Linked DNA regions of Homo sapiens: region 1 is linked to region 2. The links are contacts of gene promoters, found by promoter capture Hi-C in blood cells and fetal thymus (Javierre and others, 2016). All regions are on one chromosome and are shown on one strand. Each heading gives the region's core, a stretch centred on a gene start or on the middle of the fragment in contact. The rest is flanking DNA. Distances are from core to core; before and after follow the strand shown.

Evidence for each region. Contacts are between HindIII fragments. The CHiCAGO score rates a contact against its expected background, and 5 or more counts as called.
Region 1: a contact is called between a fragment that was not itself captured here and the fragment with the promoter of NDST2 in region 2, in 1 of 17 cell types (M0 macrophages). The highest score is 5.2, in M0 macrophages.

What each region holds. Positions count from the first base shown.
Region 1 is chr10:74,109,235-74,111,934 of GRCh38, reverse strand. VCL (vinculin) reads right to left here. Exons shown (of 22, transcript NM_014000.3): 19 at 1-26. Among named protein-coding and RNA genes, the nearest start is that of AP3M1, 40 kb to the left of the region's middle. The HindIII fragment of the contact is 1,114 bases long and covers 853-1,966 here.
Region 2 is chr10:73,810,162-73,812,861 of GRCh38, reverse strand. It overlaps NDST2 (N-deacetylase and N-sulfotransferase 2), which reads left to right and starts at 1,264. Exons shown (of 15, transcript NM_003635.4): 1 at 1,264-1,388; 2 at 1,959-2,063. CAMK2G (calcium/calmodulin dependent protein kinase II gamma) reads left to right here. Exons shown (of 23, transcript NM_001367534.1): 23 at 1-361. It overlaps NDST2-ZSWIM8-AS1 (NDST2-ZSWIM8-AS1 readthrough), which reads left to right and starts at 1,042. Exons shown (of 18, transcript NR_182658.1): 1 at 1,042-1,388; 2 at 1,959-2,063. RefSeq lists silencers at 750-1,459, 1,760-1,829. The HindIII fragment of the contact is 9,520 bases long and covers 1-2,073 here.

The DNA.
Region 1 (2,700 bases), core at 160-2,659, 300 kb before region 2:
CCCACCTCAGCGGCTGGGATGCCCGGCTTTGTCGATGGCGGGAAGGATGAGAAATAGGGATAGTGTTAGTAAGAGCAATACGACTTGGGAAACTGGGCTTCAGCTGGTTTAGTAACCAAAGCCTGCCTAGGATGAGAAAGAAACATGTTCTCTAGGAGCCTTGTGTACCAAGCTTCACAGAAGGGGGAATTCTCAGCCTCCAGCGCCACTCAGCCCAAGCCACTGTGTGGTGAGAGAAGAAAAGGGACTCACTCCAATGGCAAAGGGCTTCTAGAGAAATCTTTACACCAAGAAAGCAAGTGGCATCCATTTCTTTAATATACTTGATACTAAAGTCAAACTTGACAAGAGTGATTCTCACATGAGAATATTTCTGAGGAGCCAAACAACCAAACGATAGTAGCAAATTACCTTTAAAAGGAATCCGGAGAGAAAAAGTAAATGCAGCCACACAAGTTACTTTGTACAGAACAAAGTGAACACTGCTGGATCATATGGTCACTGTTCTACATTTTCCTGGGACACAGGAGGCAATTTGGGTCAGCTCTGCAGCTGCCAGACATAGATTATTTCCTTCATGAGTTAAAAGTCCCAGAATTAAAAATGATACATCAGAGGTAACGAATACCAAACTAGGAAAGAGGCAGGAAAAACAAACACAATGGTGACTGAAGAGAACTTAAGTACCCCACTGTCACCCAGCTGTAAGGAGCCTCAAGAAGCCACCTCGTCAGCCGCCCATCTCAGGGAACACCCACACATCAGACCAGCTCTCTATCCCCTCAAGGTCTTCTGAGGCAAAGCTTCTACCATCTCTTTTTGCATCCATTGCTAGTACCACCTCAGAAAGCTTCTCCTTGGGTACAACCTAAATTGCTTGCAAAATAGGTTCTCACTCACCCCAAACTCTGCTTATCTAGTTCACAGATAGAATAATATGTGAACTTGGCAAGTGACTGCAGCTGAGCTCACAGAAGCTCAGAAGAATGGTGCTCATTTAAGAATGAGAATCATGATGGAGAGAACATGAATTTAGAACCAGGGATGGAGATTATAAAAGCCAGATGCTGAAAATAGACTAACATGGAAAGAAAATTAAAAACTGCCACAATGAAGCCAAACCATTTATACAAAGAATGATGAATACAGGTTCTTTACATCAAACATCTGTACTCAAGAGGAAGTAGTTTATATGGAATTTTCTTTGAGGTTGTTACCACTCCTAAAAGTCTTAACCTGCACATGAAACCTGACTCCAAAGGGTGACGATGTTGGAGGATTCAGGGCCAACAAGGGGTTCAGATACCATCTAAACTCTTTTGCCTAAACTCAACCAAGACCCATCTCTGCTGCTCAGAAGAAAAGCCAGCTCACTGCTGCTAAGGCTCAGAGTCCCACAGTGTACAAAGACAGATAGGTTGACAGACACACGAACAGATATTCCTCCCCAGCCCAGTACACACATGGTTCAAGTAGCTTCTGACTTCACACAACTCAAAGTCAGCAAACTCCTGATCTTGCACACTTCAGGAGATAGACCTCAGGACTTCTGGCCACAAATGGCAGAGTGGGGCAAGTAATGTGGGCCAATGCTGTCTGCTTTTAAGTTTGTTTGTTTTTTTAAATAATTCATGTATATTTTTTGTTCTGCATAGTGTATTTTGGTTCATTGTAATGAAATTTAAATTTCCTTTAAAATCTTCACTGTCACCCTCCCCCACTCCCCATGCACAGTGGGGCTCTGCCACATGCAGTTGGAGAGATACCATTATAAATAATTCTACAGGTCAGGTCCAACACCAGCAAAGTCTCCCTTCCTTCTTAGAACCTGGGCTCACAGCTAACAGTTCAGCAAAATACAGAGTTAAAAACCAATGTGAATTTCCCAGCCTGAAAAAAATCCAAGATCAGCTGCAGGTGCAGGAGGTCCCTGAGGAAATACAATCGACACAAGAGCTTGAAAGCTTTGAGGATGTGTAAAGAATAAAGGCAAATAGGTGGTGGGAATAAAGATCTAGGGTCATAAAAACATTAAAAAAAAGATCTAGGGTCATATTAGAAACAGTTTAGAACTAAGAGCTACCTTTCACTGCAGGGTTAGCAATAATATTCCTCTTATCTAGAAAAGCTACTGCTCACTTTTCATCATTTAGGGGAAAATAGGCAAAAGTTATTCATAGGGCAAGACTGCTGTAGCATCCATATTTTTACCAACCACATTAATATTTACACCTTCAGATTTGCTGAGTAAGAGACAGCCTGGAGCTGTCTTGAGTTGACAGGTGAAATGATTCTGAGAAAGGACAAAAGCACATGGCTTCTAAGATACCAATCTACTTGCTTCTGTGGAAAAAAAAAGAAAATGCAAACATTTCATCTAGCTTTAGCACAGCCCACACAATTCATATTTGGAGCTCTGATCATTAGCAATGTAGCATCTAAAAACATTTGCAGTTCCAAGAAAGATAAGCAATTTCTAAAAGACCCCAAATGCTAAGGTCAAGGCACCTGGCACTCTAATGGACAAAGGACAGGAATCCTCTTCTCAAATCACAGGCACCCTGACTCTGGCTTTTGCAAGCTTGAAGGAGAAACCATCAGGTGTCAGAAACATCTCACTAAAGCACAGGTAAGAAGAGGAATATGCTATTGGCAACACAGGAACCAAAGGAGAGAGAGAGGGTGACTCCAAATAGACTC
Region 2 (2,700 bases), core at 15-2,514:
CTGCCCTGCAGTCTGCAGTGCCAGCACGCAAATCCCTTCACCACAGGGTTTCGTTTTGCTGGCTTGAAGACAAATGGTCTTAGAATTCATTGAGACCCATAGCTTCATATGGCTGCTCCAGCCCCACTTCTTAGCATTCTTACTCCTCTTCTGGGGCTAATGTCAGCATCTATAGACAATAGACTATTAAAAAATCACCTTTTAAACAAGAAACGGAAGGCATTTGATGCAGAATTTTTGCATGACAACATAGAAATAATTTAAAAATAGTGTTTGTTCTGAATGTTGGTAGACCCTTCATAGCTTTGTTACAATGAAACCTTGAACTGAAAATATTTAATAAAATAACCTTTAAACAGTCCATTGTGTTACTGCTGTTGGAGGTTTACGGCCAGAGGCGTAGATTTTAGCAGCCTGGCTTACCAGGTTGGAGAGAGTACCTCCTCCTACTCCCTTTGGGTACTTTTGAGAATAAAACTTCCTCATGCCTGTAATCCCAGTACTTTGGGAGGCCGACGCGGGCGAATCACGAGGTCAGGAGTTCGAGACCAGCCTGGCTAATATGGTGAAACCCCGTCTCTACTAAAAAATACAAAAAATTTAGCTGGGCATAGTGGCGGGCGCCTGTAATCCCAGCTGCTCGGAAGGCTGAGGCAGGAGAATCGCTTGAACCTGGGAGGGGGAGGTTGCAGTGAGCCGAGGTCGCGCCACTGCACTCCAGCCCAGGCGACAGAGTGAGACTCCGTCTCAAAAAAAAAAAAAAAAAAAAAAAAAAAAAAAAAAAACTTCTCATAAACAGCCTCCAAACAGCGCTCGGTGCTGCGCAGGCGACGCGGGGCGGGGAGGGAGGGTGAGTGCCCTGGGAGCCGGCTGAGGGCCTCGCCCCGCCCCTGGTCCCGCCTCCGGTTAGGCCGCTCCGCCTCTTACTCCTCCCCTCCCCCGAGTGGGCCGGCCCGGCTCCCCCTCCGCGGGGCTGAGTGGATGAGCCCAGGCCTGAGCCCGCCCCTGCTCCGAAGTCGTGGTCCCCGACGCTCGGCCGGCAGTGCCATCGCGCGGAGAGGAGGGGGTGCGCTTCCGCGGGCGGGGCGCGGAGCCCGCCGTCTCGGAGGCCGCGGCTCGGCCCGGCACTGCGGAGGGCCGCTTGATTTCCCGGAACCCAGGTCGCGCGGCTGCTAGGGCCGGAGCCGGTGGATCCGAGCGGGTGCCACCAGCGGCGGCGCGCCGCCTCCCCCGGTGGGAGCGGTGGTTGGGCCAGGCTGCGGCAGAGCGTTCGCTCGGAGATGGCGGAGCAGCCGCGACGCGGCCCGTGGCCCCGAAAGCAGGGAAGCCGGGCAGCCCCGGGACGCGGCGGAGCCCGGGGACAGCGGGGACGCCGCCCAGTCCTCCGGGTGAGCCGCCCCTGAGGAGACCCCCCCGCCCACGGTCGCGCTCAGGCCCCCCCAACAGACTCCCTTGGATGTTGCCACCATCACCACCCGCAGGGTCGTCCCGGGCGGCCCAGCGTGCGCCGCGCCCCGGGTCCTTTCCGCCGGCCTCCCTCAGAACCGCCTCGCTCCCCTCCGGACCGGGCGGGCTCCCTTCTTCCCGCAGGGCTCTCCCAGCCCAGAGGCTGTCTCGATGTCACCCCGGAGTCGCCGCCGCGCGCCTGTGGCCCCTTCCCCTTTGGTGTCCCACATCCGGTGCGCTCTTCGCATCCACCTGTGCCCCCGTCTCCTCTCGGCGGGGCCCCTCCACCCGCCAGCCCCGGGCCCCCTCGGCGCCCGCAGCCTCCGCGCCGCTGCTCCGGCCGTCCCGGCCTCCCCAAGCCCGGGCCCGGCCCCGGCCCCCGTCTGGCTTCGCCGTCCTCAGAGATCTCCCGCACACACCCACCCCGCCCAGCCCTGCTGGCCCTCAGTGTTCACTGGCCCGGCCTGCGGCGCTCCCGGCGCCCCTTCCCTAAACCTTGCTGCTTCTTCCAGGTATGAAGCTAAAATGCAGCGGCTAAGAACGCGGCTCTGGAGCTTGACAGGCCTGACGTCGAATCCCAGCCCTCCCACCAACTGAGCTGTGTGATCCTGGGCAAGGTTCTAAGCTTCTCTGAGTTACTCATATGTGAAATGGGGATAATGGAGCATGTACCTTTTCCCTACCTCTTAGGGCTGGTGTGAAGATTAAATATATGTGAAGCTCTTAGAAGAATGGCTGGCAAGTTGTAATTTCTCAAATACGGGATGATACACCCTGAGTATCAACTTCCCGTCAGTGACCTCCTCACTACAATGTTTTCTCTAAAGTTGCATCACATTCTTAGCATTCACCCCTTCCCGTCACCATTTTGATCCTCTCCCCCAGCTGTCTTCTCGTGTCGTTTTACCTAGGCCAAAGCTGAACTGTTTTATTTTTATTTTTATTTTTATTTTTTTTTGAGCTGGAGTCTAGCTCTGTCACCCAGGCTGGAGTACAGTGGCACAATCTCAGCTCACTGCAATTTCCGCCTCCCACGTTCAAGTGATTCTCCTGCCTCAGCCTCCTGAGTAGCTGGGACTACAGGCGCCCACCACCATGCCCATCTAATTTTTGTATTTTTAGTAGAGACGGGGCTTCACCATGTTGGCCAGGCTGGTCTCGAACTCCTGACCTCAAGTGATCACCCGCTTCGGCCTTTCACAGTGCTGGAATTACAGGCGTGAGGCACCACGCCTGTCCTGAACTGTTTTTAAA